Regions from separate parts of the Homo sapiens genome. Here regions 2 and 3 are each linked to region 1. Evidence: promoter capture Hi-C in 16 types of primary human blood cells and fetal thymus (Javierre and others, 2016). All regions are on one chromosome and are shown on one strand. The core of a region is centred on a gene start or on the middle of the fragment in contact, and the rest is flanking DNA. Distances in the headings are between cores, read along the strand shown.

Region 1 (5,017 bases), core at 2,518-5,017:
AGAAATTACAGACAAGATGGAGTGAGTGAATTTATCTCTATTCTTGCCACTAATTACAAATTTTAAAAAAAAAATCCTGGACATAATATATAAAACACAAACACAAGAAGATTCTAAACAGTTGAGAGATGAAGGGGGGCAAGGAGCCTCTGGACATGAGGAATGACATGACAATGAGTTACCCGTGTTTTCTTTTTGTCCCCTGTGTATTGTAGGCCATGTGCTAGATAAGAATATAATCTAGAAACGCCAATCCCAAGGATTTTCTGTTCTCTCCTGCCAAAAGACTGGAAAGGGGACTGCTGGAATAGAAGCCTTTAAACAATAATCACCATATTCTAGCCAAACATCATGTGGAAATATGGGACACCACCCCCCCGCCAACAGCAAAGGCCAAGTGGAAAACCTATATTTAAACCCCCCACCCCACCCCTTGGCAGTAAGGAATCATCCCTCCCCACTCCCCACTCCCCACTGGGGTGGCATCAGAAGAGGCTAAGTAGGAAGACTGAACATGCACTCCCTCCCTGAAGCAATGAGGCACTCCTCCCAATTCTTGCTTTGGGTGGTGTCAGAAAAGGCCAAATGGAGGGTCTGGATTTTTACCACTGCTCAGCAGTAATGTGGTCCCCTACCTTATCATCACTGTGTCAAAAATCACTCATCATAACAAGAACCAGGACAATCTTGACTTGAATGAACAAAAGGCAATCAACAGACACCAAAACCAAGACAACACAGACGTTAGAATTATCTTACAAGGATTTTAAAGAAACCATAGTAAAAATGCTTCAACTAGCAGCTATGAACACATTTAAAACAAATAAACAAAAAAACTAGAAAGTCTTTAAAAAAAGAGTAGAAGATATAAAGAAGAACCAAAGGGAAATTTTAGAATTGAATAATACAATGACTGAAAGGTAAAACTAATTGAATGAGTTTAATGAGCTTAATAGCAAAATGGAGGCCAGGGCCAGTGGCTCATACTGGCAATCCCAGCACTTGGGGAGGCCAAGGTGGGCGGATCACCTGAGGTCAAGAGTACAAGACCAGCCTGGCCAACATGGCAAAACTCTGTCGCTACCAAAATATAAAAATTAGCCAGGTGTGGTGGCGGGTGCCAGTAATCCCAGCTACTTAGGAGGCTGAGGCAGGAGAATCGCTTGAGCCCAGGAGACAGAGGTTGCAGTGAGCTGAGATCGTGCACTCCAGCCTGGGCAACAGAGTGAGACTCTGTCTCAGAAAAAATAAAAAAATAAAAAATTGCAAAATGGAGATGAAAAAGGAAAGAATCAGTGTACTTGAAGATAAACAATAGAAAATACCCAATCTGAAAACAGAGTGAAAATAGGCCAAAAAAAAAAAAAAAAAAAAAAAAAAATGGAGCCTCAGAGCCCTGTGGGAGAAAAACAAAAGATTTATAACATTCATGTCATCAGAATTTTAGGAGAGAAGCGAGAATGTGAGGCTGAAAAAAAAGTATTCAAAAAATAATGAAATTTCCCCAAACTTAGCAAAAGGTAAAAACCTACAGATTCAAGAGACTCAATGAATCACAAATAAGAGAAACCCAAAGAAATTCACACCAAGACACATTATAATCACACTTCTGAAAACTAAAGACAAACAAAAAACTTTTAAAACAGCTAGAGAAAAATGACACATTACCTACAGGGAAAACAACTTAAATGACGGCTGATTTCTCACTGGAAACCATGGAGGGGAGGAGTGTCATGACACTTTTCAAGTGTTGAAAGAAAAAAAACTGTCAACCTAGAATTTTATACCCAGGAATGAGGGTTAAATCAAGACATTCTCAGGTGAAGGAAAACTAAGATAATTTGTTATCAGCAGGCTTATCATAAAAGAATTCCTAAAGAATATCTTGAAACAGAAAGAAATGATTAAAGAAGAAAACTTGAAGGCTGGGTGTGGTGGCTCATACCTGTAATCCCAGCACTTTGGGAGGCCAAAGTTGGTGGATCACCTGAGGTCAGGAGTTTGAGACTAGCCTGGCCAACATGGCGAAACCTGATCTCTACTAAAAGTACAAAAAGTAGGTGGGCATGGTGGCATGAGCCTGTAGTCCCAGCTACTCAGGAGGCTGAGGCAGGAGAATCGCTTGAACCCAGGAGGCGGAGATTGCAGTGAGCCAAGATCATGCCACTACACTCCAGCCTGTATGACAGAGCAAGACTTCGTCCAAAAAAAAATAAAAAGAAGGAAACTTGAAACATTAGAAATAAAGAAATAACAATGAAAAGAGTTAAAATATGGGTAAATGTAATGGATTGTCCTTCTCCTCTTGAGTGTTCTGAATTATGTTCAACAATTGAAGCAAAACTTATAATCTTACCGATATGGTTCTCAATGAATATAGACAATATATTTAAGACAAGTATAAAGATAGACTAATAAAGAAACCTAATATAGGTAAGTTTTCTATACCTAGTTCAACTGGTAAAATGTCAACACTGATAGGTAGATCAAAAGTTATGTATGTAAAATGCAATATGTACAGCAACCAGTAAAAAAACTCTTCAAAAAGATACATTATAGATAAATCAAAATGGAATTATAAAAAATATTCCAGTAACACACAGGATGGCCAGGAAAGTGAAACAGAGGAACAAAATAAACAAACAAAAGCCCAGAAGAACAAAGAGAAAATAATAACATGGCAAACTTAAGCTCTGATATATAAATAATTACATTATGTAAGTCAGTTAAATAGAATAGATAGCTCCAGAATATACCCACACAAGTATAAGTGCTGATTTTTGATAAAGATACAAAAGTAATTCAATGTAGGAAAGATCATCTTTTCCATCACATGGTAGTAGAACAATTGAACACCCACAGGCAGAAGAAAAAAAAACACGCACATTGTAATCATACTTCTGAAAACCAAAGGCAAACAAAAAACTTTTAAAACAGCTAGAGAAAAATGACACATTACCTATAGGGAAAACAATTTAAATGATGGCTGATTTCTCACTGGAAACCATGGAGGGGAGGAGTGTCATGACACTTTTCAAGTGTCGAAAGCAAAAAAAAACTGTCAACCATATTACCTGATATGGTTCTCAATGAATATAGACAATATATTTAGGTGAATCTCAACCTAAACTTCACACCTTACATTAAAACAGGATCATACATTTAAATGTAAAACATAAAACTATAAAACTTTCAGGAGAAAACCTTTGGACCCTAGTGTGGGTAGAAAAAAAACTGATAAGTTGAATTTCATCAAAATTAAAATTTTTGCTCTGCCAAAGACCCCGTTAAGAAGATGAAAAGACAGGCTACAGACCAAGAGAAAATATTTGTAAACCACATATCTGACAAATGACTCTTATACTTGGAACATATAAGGAATTGTCAAAGCTCAACAGTAAAAAAAATAAAGAATCTGATTATAAAATGGACAAAAGACATAAATAGACATTTCACCAAGGAGGATATGGATATATAGATGGCAAATAAGCACATGAAAAGATGTTCAACATTATTAGGCTTTAGGGAAATGCAAATTAAAGCCACAATGAGGTATCACTACAGCACCTATTAAAACAGCTAAAATATAAAATGGGAATATACCAAATGCTGATGAAGATGGGGAGCAAATAGATCTCTCATAGATTGCTGGTGGCAAGGTAAAATGCTCTATTCACTCTGAAAATAATTTAGCAATTACTCAATCTCACATGTCTGCGGCGTGACCCCTCCTGCTTCTTTAAATATCAGCTGGGGAAGAGGTCTGAGTAATACCTAAGAGGGAAGTGGCTTCATTTCAGTGGCTGACTTCCAGAGAGCAATATGGCTGGTTCCCCAACATGCCTCACCCTCATCTATATCCTTTGGCAGCTCACAGGTGAGTCCGGCCGGATTCTCTTCCACTCTCCTGTCTACCCCATCCTGAATAGTTCCAGGTTTCTTGTTCCACTCTGGGCCTCTGGCTCAACTCGGGAGGCTCTGTGTTCTCATCTAACATTTGCTTTTTATCAATCTCTGATCTCTGATTCTCAGGTCAGGAAGAGACTAGAGAGAGGGGGAAAAATGGCTCTGGGAACTGACTCCCCTGTTGACTGTCCCAGGGATGAAGGAGCTGAAAGAAGTGGTGCTGGGTATCAGAGACCATTTTTCTAATCCAGGTTCTGCCATGAGTTAGATAAGGAATGTTAAAGTTTTCCTGGGCCTCAGAAACTTTATCTTCTAGCCTTCTCTCCTTTTGAGGGCAACTTTAAGAACAAGATGATACTATACAGGTATGTATTTATTTACTTATAAATGTATTTATAAAATTGGTTATGCATAACAGTAATATAAATGGAAAGAATCACTTGAATTTTCTTTCCTTACTCAAGCAATGTAATCAGTCTCTACTTAGAGAACCAACTCATACCATAGGCACTTTATGTTTAATCCCATGGAGGACAGAGGACAGTTCTCCACCTGTCACTGGTATTCTAGTCTTTGAAGATTTTTCTATCCTAAGGGCTCTCAGAAAGGATCAGGAGCCCTATAAGTGAGAAATATCTCTTCTGTCATCAATCTCATGGAGTACTACCATGAGGTCCCCCTATAAGGACTTCACATAACTGCTTCATTATGTGTATCTGAGCCTGCCTGGAGTGATCTGCCCAAGACCACGCAGGCAGCTGGTGCCCCCAATATTTTCCCCTGCATCGCTAAGTGGTCAGCATCAGCAGACTCTTACCCACTTTGAATTCATCAGAAGTTTGTATTTTTGAGAGGTACCTGGGTCTAACCAGGTGGTTCTGGAATAGGCCCTCACTTTAAAAAAAAAAAACAAAAAAAAAACTCCCTGAACGGAAATGATGAGCAGAAATAGAACTTGAGGGAGATAAGGTGGAGGGGTTGGGGAAAATTATAGAGACTTTGAAAGCTACAGGTGTCCATCTGAAATCAGTCAGCGAAAGAGCACAAGTATGAAAAACTGCCATGCAGGTCCCCCTCTGCCCTCCTCCAGAGGCAGCCTGTGTAGTGTACC
Region 2 (5,017 bases), core at 2,146-4,645, 270 kb after region 1:
AAAAATCCGTCTCTACTAAAAAATATATATATAAAAATTAGCCGGGTGTGGTGGCACATGCCTGCAATCCCAGCTACTTGGGAGGCTGAGGCAGGAGAATCGCTTGAACCTGGGAAGCAGAGGTTGCAGTGAGCTGAGATCGTGCCATTGCACTCCAGCCTGGGCAACAAGAAACTCCGTCTCAAAAAAAAAAAAAAAATGCTGGGCGCAGTGGCTCATGCCTGTAATCCCAGCACTTTGGGAGGCCAAGGCGGGCAGATCACCTGAGGTGGGGAGTTCGAGACCAGCTTGACCAACATGGAGAAACCTCGTCTCTACTAAAAATACAAAATTAACCAGGCGTGGTGGTGCATGCCTGTAATCCCAGCTACTCAGGAGGCTGAGGCAGGAGAATTGCTTGAACCTGGGAGGCAGAGGTTGCAGTGAGCCAAGATCGTGCCATTGCACTCCAGCCTGGCCAACAAGGGAGAAACTCTGTCTCAGAAAAGAAAAAAAAAAAAAAATCCCAGCTCTGTTACTTACTAGGCTATGTGACCTGGACAAGCCACTTGGCCTCCTCAAATCTGAGTTTACGCATCTGTAAAATGGGGATAATAACAGTTTCTACATCAAAGGGCTGTTCTGAAGGCTAAACAAGCTAATACTGTACAAATAAAGTGCTTAGAGCAGTGTCTGAACAGGAAACCCCAAATAAGTATTATATTTTATGATTATCATCATCTGTTCATAGGCCCTTCTGTACACATACTTCTTTCTGACTTCAATGTTTTCTTCAACAAGACATATAAATAAAGCCTGAAAAGTGCCTACTCCAGCCTACCAAACCATATCTCCCCTGTCATTGCAGCTGCCTTGGGAAGGCGGCCCCTTCTCTAGAACCTTCACAGCTGTACCAGCAGAGCTAGGAACTTGCTCTCACTGAATCCAATCTACATCAGGACACTCACAGTTTCCCTGTCCATCCTCCTCATCTATTTCATATTTTCCCGTGCCTCTTCACAGCCCCCCTTTTGCACTTAACCTTGGGCCCATACATACCATACTGTACACACACATGCAAATGTCCTACTGATGTACGTGGTAAACGAATAATAGAAGGAAATTCCATCCTTTCCATTGTCAAGTTTAATTTTCTCTAAGTTCACAACAAGAAAAGCCACAAAGTTAAAGGCATCAATAGATTTTGGCCTGCTTAGGTTTTGGGCCCATGTATAGAAAGTCCATTCTCCAGCCAGGCACGGTGACTCACGCCTGTAATCCCAGCACTTTGGGAGGCTGAGGCAGGCGGATCTCGAGATCAGGAGATCAAGACCATCTTGGCTAACACGGTGAAACCCCATCTCTACTAAAAATACAAAAAATTAGCCGGGCGTGGTCGCAGGCACCTGTAGTCCCTAGTCCCAGCTACTCCGGAGGCTGAAGCAGTAGAATGGCGTGAACCCGGGAGGTGGAGCTTGCAGTAAGCTGAGATGGCACCACTGCACTTCAGCCTGGGTGACAGAGCGAGACCCCGTCTCAAAAAAAAAAAAGAAAGTCCATTCTCCATTCCACTACTGGATGAAGTGCTAGCATTTATTGAGCACATACTATATTTGAGGCACTGTTGTAAGCATATTATATGTAATATCATTTAATCCCTGCAACAGCCTTTAGAGTTGGGTGATTCTATCGTTATCACCCATATTTACATGGGGAAACTGAGGCCCAGAGTAGTTAAGTAACTTGGCTAAGGCCACACAGTGAGTGGTAGTGCAGATTCACACCAATGCAGTCCAACTGCAGAGGCTATACAATGCTACACTATACTATACAGCCTTCCTAAAAATGCAAATCTGATACCTCCTTTAAGCTTTTGATGATTCTACATTGCTTATATGATAAAATCCAAATTTTTCTGCAAGCTAAGAAAGTTCCAATAATCCCTATACTCTGCCAAACGCCCACCTCCCTCTCTCCCACCAGGAAGTGCTGGAAGAAAGTTCCAGCACTATCTGACCCCTTGATAAGGTTATCATCTTCATCACCCACTCTACTGTTGCAATTTACCCTCTAGCAATACAAAACTACTTAAAATTCCTAGCAAAGTCTGGGCTGTTTCACAATCTCTGCCTTTGCTCATGCTATTTCTGCTATGTAGAACACCCTTTTCCCCCTCTTTATCTGGGCAGCAGTATTCATCCACATTATTTTCTGGAAAACGACCTCCCACATGCCCAGTCCTCACCATAGCCTCACCTAAGCCTCTTTCCTAGGCTTTAATTATCCCATGCAAAACACTGTCAAAGCAATTCCCACATTATAATGACATCATCTGTGTACAAGCATGTCTCCCATGGTAAACCCCAAGTGAAAAGGGACCATGTGTTATTTAATATTCTGAGTATCCCACACTTAGCATAATAAAACTGGTACAAGTTGACATTCAATAAATGTTTTCTCAGCCTGGGCAACACAGTGAGACCCCCATCTGTACCAAAAAAAAAAAAAAATTAATCAGCTGCAGTCATGCACGCCCATGAACGCCTATAACACTGAGGATGTAATTCCTGGAAATTACTACGTACCTGAATAATAATAATGAAACAACTGTGGCAAATAGTATTTTCCAAAACAGCCACATCTATCTATATATTTATCTCCTCCCCCATGCTCTACTTACATTGTGACTGAGGTGGAGTCTAAGTTAAGTTTCCTCCCCATGGGCCGGGTGCGGTGGCTCACGCCTATAATCCCAGCACTTTGGGAGGCCGATGTGGGTGGATTGCTTGAGGTCAGAAGTTTAAGACCAGCCGGGCCAACATGATAAAAATTACAAAAATTAGCCAGGCATGGTGCATACCTGTAGTCCCAGCTACTTGGGAGGCTGGAGAACCACTTGAGCCCAGGAGGTGGAGGCTGCAGTGAGCTGATATGGTGCCACTGTACTTAGTCTGGATGACAGAGCAAGACTCTGTCTCAAAAAAAAAGTTTCCTCCCCATGAATCTGGGAGGGTCTTATGATTGACAATGGCATAATGGTAGAAGTGGCATATTATTAATGTTAGGCCTTATATGCATTTTCTCACTAAACTCTTAAAAAAAAAAAAAACCTATGAGACAAGTACCATTGAAGATTGAAGTACTACCGTTACCATTTCATTTTACAGATGAAAAAACTGAGGCTTAGAACAGTTGACCCAGGCCAGGCATAGTGGCTCACACGTGTAATCCCAGAACTTTGAGAGTCCGAAGCAAGCGGATCACAAGGTCAGGAGTTCGAGACTAGCCTGGCCAACGTGGTGAAACCCCGTCTCTACTAAAAATACAAAAATTAGCTGGGCATGGTGGCAGGCGCCTGTAATCCCAGCGACTCAGGAGGCTAAGGCAGGAGAATTGCTTGAAGCCGAGAGGGGGAGGTTGCATTGAGCTGAGATTAAGCCACTGCACTCCAGCCTGGGTGACAGAGCGAGACTCCATCAAAAAAAAAAAAAAAACAGTTGATCCAAACCATATGGCTACAAATAGCAAGGTAGGAATCTTAACTCTGCCTGATTTTGAGGCTCTAAAACTATTATGCTATATGTAGCTTTATTGGACAAGCAAGGAAATCCCATGTATCTTTCAAGATCCTGTTCAAATGTCTATTGATCTCTTATACCTTTCCTCAGTCAAAATTAATCTCACCCCAATTTCTAGGAATATAGCCTAAGAAAGCAATCAAAGATAAGTTTAAATATTTTGGCTGGGTGCAGTGGCTCACGCCTGTAATCCCAGCACTTCGGGAGGCTGAGGCGGACGGATCACTTGAGGCCAGGAGTTTGAGACCAACCTGACCAAAATGGTGAAACCCCATCTGTACCAAAAATATAAAAATTAGCTGGGCGTGGTGGCAGGCACCTGAATCCCAGCTACTTGGTAGGCTGAGGCTTGAACCTGGGAGGTGGAGGTTGCAGTGAGCTGAGATTACGCCACTGCACTCCAGTCTGGGCGATAGAGTGGGACTCCATCTTAAAAAAAAAAAAAAAAAAAAAAATTCATGTACAAGAACAATTTAACGTTATTTAGGTTTCATTGTTCGTTTTTTTTGGAAACTGAGTCTTGCTCTGTCGCCCAGGCTGGAGTGCAGTGGCGCGATTGTGGCTCATGGCAACTTCCACCTCCCAGGTTCAAGAGATTCTCCTGCCTCAGCCTCTCCAGTAGCTGGGATTACAGGCACACACCACCATACCCAGCTAATTTTTGTACTTTTGATAGACACGGGGTTTCACCACATTGGCCAGGCTGGTCTCAAACTCCTGGCCTCAAGTGATCCGTCCGCCCCAGCCTCCCAAAGTGCTGGGATTACAGGCATGAACCACCATGCCCAGCCAATTTAATGTTATTTAGTATAACAAAGAAAAAAAAGAAATCTAAATGCCCAACAAAAGGTGAATAAGTAAATTATGATATAGCCATACTTTAGGAATAATGTAGAAAGGACCTTAAAGTATATTTTGGGCCAGGCGCGGTGGCTCACACCTGTAATCTCAACACTGAGAGGCCGAGACAGGTGGTCAGGAGTTCAGGACCAGCCTGGCCAAGATGGTGAAACCCCATCTCTACTAAAAATACAAAAAAATTAGCCAGGCGTAGTGGTGGGCACCTGTAATCCCAGCTACTTGGGAGGCTGAGGCAGAGAATTGCTGGAGCCCAGGAAGTGGAGGTTGCAGTGAGCTGAGATTGTGCCACTGCACTCCAACCTGGGTGACAGAGCGAGATTCCACCTCAAAAAAAAAAAAAAAGTATATTTTGTAGGAAATATAGACGTATCTCACACATTAATTCATAAAGACTAGAATGAAACACCAGTAATAAGTGTTTATCTCTAGATAATAGAATTACATGTGATTTTATTTTCTCCATAGTCCTTTGCATTTTCCTATTTTTCTACATGGAGCATGTATCACTTTTTTTAATAAAACAAAAAGCTTATATCTTTAAAAAGTTACTCTCTTCTCGTCTATGCTCCTAAAACATTTTGTACTTTGTTGACAGCCCC
Region 3 (5,017 bases), core at 986-3,485, 260 kb before region 1:
AGGAGAGGCACTCTGATTTTTAGAGTTTCCAGTTTTTCTGCTCTGTTTTTTCCCCATCTTTGTGGTTTTATCTACCTTTGGTCTTTGATGATGGTGATGTACAGATGGGTTTTTGGTGTGGATGTCCTTTCTGTTTGTTAGTTTTCCTTCTAACAGTCAGGACCCTCAGCTGCAGGTCTGTTGGAGTTTGCTGGAGGTCCACTCCAGACCCTGTTTTCCTGGGTATCAGCAGTGGTGGCTGCAGAACAGCAGATATTGGTGAACCGCAATTGCTGCTGCTTGATTGTTCCTCTGAAAGTTTTGTGTTAGAGGAGTACCCAGCCGTGTGAGGTGTCAGTCTGCCCCTACTGGGGGAGTGCCTCCCAGTTAGGCTACTCAGGGGTCAGGGACCCACTTGAGGAGGCAGTCTGCCTGTTTTCAGATCACACGCTGCATGCTGGGAGAACCACTATTCTCTTCAAAGCTGTCAGACAGGGACATTTAAGTCTGCAGAGGTTACTGCTGCCTTTTGTTTGTCTGTGCCATGCCCCCAGAGGTGGAGCCTACAGAGGCAGGCAGGCCTTTTTGAGCTGTGGTGGGCTCCACCCAGTTCGAGCTTCCTGGCTGCTTTGTTTACTTACTCAAGCCTCGGCAATGGTGGGCACACCTCCCCCAGCCTTACTGCCACCTTGCAGTTTGATCTCAGACTGCTGTGATAGCAATGAGTGAGGCTCTGTGGGCGTAGGACCGTCCAAACCATGTGTGGGATATAATCTCCTGGTGTGCGGTTTGTTAAGCCCGTTGGAAAAGTGCAGTATTAGGGTGGGAGTGACCCGATTTTCCAGGTGCCGTCTGTCACCCCTTTCTTTGACTAGGAAAGGGAATTCCCTGACCCCTTGTACTTCCTGGGTGAGGCCATGCCTCGCCCTGCTTTGGCTCATGCACGGTGCGCTGCACCCACTGTCCTGCACCCACTGTCCAGCACTACCCAGTGAGATGAACCCGGTACCTCAGTTGGAAATGCAGAAATCACCTGTCTTCTGCATTGCTCACGCTGTGAGCTGTAGACTGGAGCTGTTCCTATTCGGCCATCTTGGCTGCCCCTCTATTTCCTCCTGTGTCTTAAATTGCCATGAATTCACCTTGTGTTTTAAGTTGCCATGAATTCACCTTGTGTTTTGGATTGTTGTTGGATCCTGAGAGGGATGTTCTACTTTCCTTGGGTCATTAGAAGTCAAAGGGAGAATGAAAAACAGAATTTAAGGTGATTACGAGACATCCAGGAAAATATCCAGTCAGCAGAACCTAGGGAAACAAATCTAATTATGGGACATAAATAATAAGAGAAACCAAGCTAAGGAGAGGTAAGGAGGAGACAGAAAGACAAAAGTAGGATGAGGTGACTTAATGGGCATTAAAAGGAGGGAAACCTCAAGGGTGATGGGGGGATTGTGTAATGTCAAATGCTGCAGAGAGCACCAGAATGCAGAGAAAAGATCCCTGCCTCTAGAGGTTGGTATCCTTCAAGAATGCAGCTTCAGAAGAGTGGGCTAGGGGTGAGGAAGCAAAAGCTTTGGATGTGGCCATTCTAGTCGTCTGGTAGTAAAAGGTCAGTGATGATGTCCCCTTCCTTTCTTCCCACAGAGAGTGCTTTTAGATGGCCTCTGGGAAGGGGAAATTCAGGGGGTCAGACTTGCTCCCTCCCCATTTGAGAAGTCACTTCTTAGTCCATTCTTTTCATCAACTTGAAACTCAGGGTGAAATGTCTATCCAGTGACCTTGGACAGGGTAGCCTTCTCTCTGTTCTGCATCTAGCTGTGGCCCTGCTTCCTCATATCAAAGTATACACTGAACCCTGAGGGAGGCTAAATGATGAAAGCTTCAAGTAAGTGTCCTAAAGCTACACGGGGTTCAGGTGTTGGCTTGAGGGTGGGATGGGGTGTGGACAAGTGAGATCAGACATTGTTATTTTGGGACTAGTTAATGTGCTCTTTTGACCAACATGATGTGGGGCAAAGCTTCATGGTGTAGGTAAGAGGTTGGAAACTTAACTATTTTCAGTACTAGGTAGGTATCTTAAGTGAGTGAAGCAGGCAGGGCAGGCCAGGAGTGAAATGTGAAGTGCAAGCCCCATTTAGAATAGAACAGAGGCTACTCAGCACCAGCTAATTGTTGCCTCATAGGGATGTGGTCCCAGTATCCATAAGGCACAGAAGTAGGAAGGAGAGTCTAGATTATTCTAGGAGCTGAATAAAGAACAGTGTGGCTGGAATGCTGTGAAAGAAGGAGTAGAGATGTGAGTAGGGGTCTTGTAGGCCTTGTCAACACTTTGTGACCTCCTAGTGGGAATGACTGGGGGCTGGCAGAGTGGGAAGAGTATTTCTATTCCCTTTTATTACCTTTCCAGGATAGCCAATCACAGCCATCTTACCTTATTCAAAGTAGTTTAATGGGGCTACCATTTCCTTAATTCTACAATAAAAATATTAAAGAACAAGCTTACCTCCTGGGCAAAGAAAGTTTGTTTTTTGGTAGGAATTTTATAAGCATTGCATGTTTTCTTCCCTGCTTGCAAAATGCATGATTCATCTTTTAGGAATGGGGCATCTGGGTCTTAATGTATTTAACTTTAGAACAATAGATTAGGTTTTTGTTGATTAAATCCATTTGTTTCCCACAAGAAAACAAAAATGATTAGTTATATGGTGAGTACTGGGTAGTTTTCAGTTTTGTAAAGGAGATCTGTTCAAGAGTGTCCCATAACAATGATACCATTTACTGATATGAAAAAGCATAGTAGAAGAAAAGGCTTGATAAGAGAAATCAAGAGGTTTGATTTTTTTTTTTTGACAGAGTCTCACTCTGTTGCCCAGGCTGGAGTGCAGTGGCATGATCTTGGCTCACTGCAACCTCCGCCTCCTGGTTTCAAGTGATTCTCCTGCCTCAGCCTCCTGAGTACCTGGGATTACAGGCACCCAACATCACACCCGGCTAATTTTTGTATTTTTAGTAGAGACCGGGTTTCACCATGTTGGCCAGACTGGTCTCGAACTCCTGACTTCAAGTGAGCCACCTGCCTCGGCCTCCCAAAGTGCTGGGATTACAGGCATGAGCCACCACATCTGCCCAAGAGTTTTTATTTTTTAAAAAACTTTGATATATCTACCAGATATGCAAATGGTGATGCCAAGTAGGCAGTTAATGAGGTAAGCCAGGAGGTCAGGACTAAAGATGTGTTTGGGAACCATTAGCTTATAAAGGCTATTAAGGCAATAGGAATGGCTGACATCAGATAAGAAGAGTACTTAGATGGAGAAGTGAATGGGACCCACATGTGAGCCTTAGCTTCAGTCTTTACTGGTCCTGTGGAGGAGGCAGTGGATCTGCAAAGAGCCTGAGAAGCAGCTAGGAAGGAAGGAGTAAAACTCGGGGAATGTAGTGTCACAGAAGCCAAGAGAAGAGAGTGTGGTATTTATGATAAAAAGGGAGAAGGTTGAAGAGATTGAAAGAAATATAACATCAGGAATTCTATGTTTTAGTAGCTGGTCTATAAAGACAAGTGAGCTTAGCTTTCTTATGAGTTCTTTTCTTACTCACCTCTTAGATGTCTATAGATACGCCCTTAGTTTTTGTTTTGTTTGTGATCCTCCCCAGTGCAGTCCAGATTCAGGGTAGATTCTGGTAGATTTCTGACTAGATGGATTAGTTGTGCCTTCCATGACATATCCCCTAATTTTCTTGCTGGTTTTGGGCACCCTAGATGTTGCAAATATTTTTCTATCTGCACTGACTTTACAGATTATTCCTTTTCCCTCTCTGAAGAACCTTGGAATTCTTCAAAGTTTCCACACACACAAAAAAAGCTTTATATATATATATATATATATATATATATATATTTTTTTTTTTTTTTTTTTTTTTTTTTTTTTGGGTCCCCTTGAAAGGAAAGCACTCTCTTACCTGCCCAGTGAGATTTCCTGAGCTTCAGGTCATGTTGCACGAACATGGCAGTAACCCTCTTTTTACTCTTTTCTTTGAAGTCTCCATGAACCCAGAACCTATTCCTTGGAAACTCTTCCTTCTTCTTGATTAAGCTTCCCTATCTTGTCCTACTCCACTGACTAATACTGTAATTGATGGCTGGTATTTGAGATTAATTAACTTTGATGAGCTTTGTTTTTTTCTATTCTTTTCAGCCATTATTTCAGTTTTTCCCCATTCCAACTCTCCAACCCCTTCCCTTTGAATCCTGTGGTCTTGAGAGCTGATCTCTGTCACGTCTTGTTGTGCTGAAGGTTTGTGAGATGATTCTGTGTAATTCAGTAATAATTAATTTTTACTATTATTAATTTATACTAATTGTATCAGTAATTATACCAACAATGCTGACTGACATTTATTGAGCTCCTTTATGTGGCTGAGAGCTATGCTAAGGACTCCAGGTGTATTGTCTTATTTCATTTTCACAAAACCCCATTACATATTCATTTATTTATTAAAAAATTTTTTTGAACACTTGCTATATGCTAGATACTGTGTTAGGTGCTAGGGTTACGGTGATAAACAAAACAGTTATTGTCTCTGTTTCTGAAGAGCTTAGGGTATAGTGGGAGAAATAGATGTTAAAAAAGTAAAAATAAATATTTAATGATATGATAAATGACATAGAAGGTGTAACAGAATAATAAGATCTATTTCATTTTATTTTATTTATTTATTTTTTGAGACAGAGTCTCACTCTGTCACCCAGACTGGAATACATTGGCATGATTTTGGCTCACTGGAACCTCCACCTCCTGGGTTCAAGCGATTCTCCTGCCTCAGTCTCTCAAGTAGCTGGGATTTTAGGGGTGCACCACCACGCCTGGCTAATTTTTTTGTATTTTTAGTAAAGACGGGGTTTCACCAAGTTGGCCAGGCTGGTCTTGAACTCCTGACCTCAAGTGATCTCCCCCCTTGGCCTCCCAAAGTACAGGGATTACAGGTGTGAGCCACCATGCCCAGCCTAGAAGATTCATTTTAGAAAGAGTGGTCTGGG

Evidence for each region. The method cuts DNA at HindIII sites, captures the fragments that hold promoters and counts their contacts. A CHiCAGO score of 5 or more calls a contact.
Region 2: a contact is called between a fragment that was not itself captured here and the fragment with the promoter of SLAMF7 in region 1, in 3 of 17 cell types (total B cells, fetal thymus and activated CD4 T cells). The highest score is 7.0, in total B cells.
Region 3: a fragment that was not itself captured here is called in contact with the fragment with the promoter of SLAMF7 in region 1 in 1 of 17 cell types (non-activated CD4 T cells); the score reaches 5.9 in non-activated CD4 T cells.

What each region holds. Positions count from the first base shown.
Region 1 is chr1:160,735,480-160,740,496 of GRCh38, forward strand. SLAMF7 (SLAM family member 7) reads left to right here and starts at 3,768. Exons shown (of 7, transcript NM_021181.5): 1 at 3,768-3,877. The coding sequence starts at 3,823. It overlaps LOC124904440 (a long non-coding RNA gene), which reads right to left and starts at 3,680. Exons shown (of 2, transcript XR_007066687.1): 1 at 3,604-3,680. The HindIII fragment of the contact is 11,353 bases long and covers 1-5,017 here.
Region 2 is chr1:161,006,985-161,012,001 of GRCh38, forward strand. The region is part of intron 1 of F11R (F11 receptor); the gene reads right to left. Among named protein-coding and RNA genes, the nearest start is that of F11R, 12 kb to the right of the region's middle. RefSeq lists enhancers at 1-26, 27-535. The HindIII fragment of the contact is 3,097 bases long and covers 1,848-4,944 here.
Region 3 is chr1:160,480,367-160,485,383 of GRCh38, forward strand. It overlaps SLAMF6 (SLAM family member 6), which reads right to left. Exons shown (of 8, transcript NM_001184714.2): 8 at 4,670-5,017. Among named protein-coding and RNA genes, the nearest start is that of SLAMF6, 40 kb to the right of the region's middle. The HindIII fragment of the contact is 480 bases long and covers 1,996-2,475 here.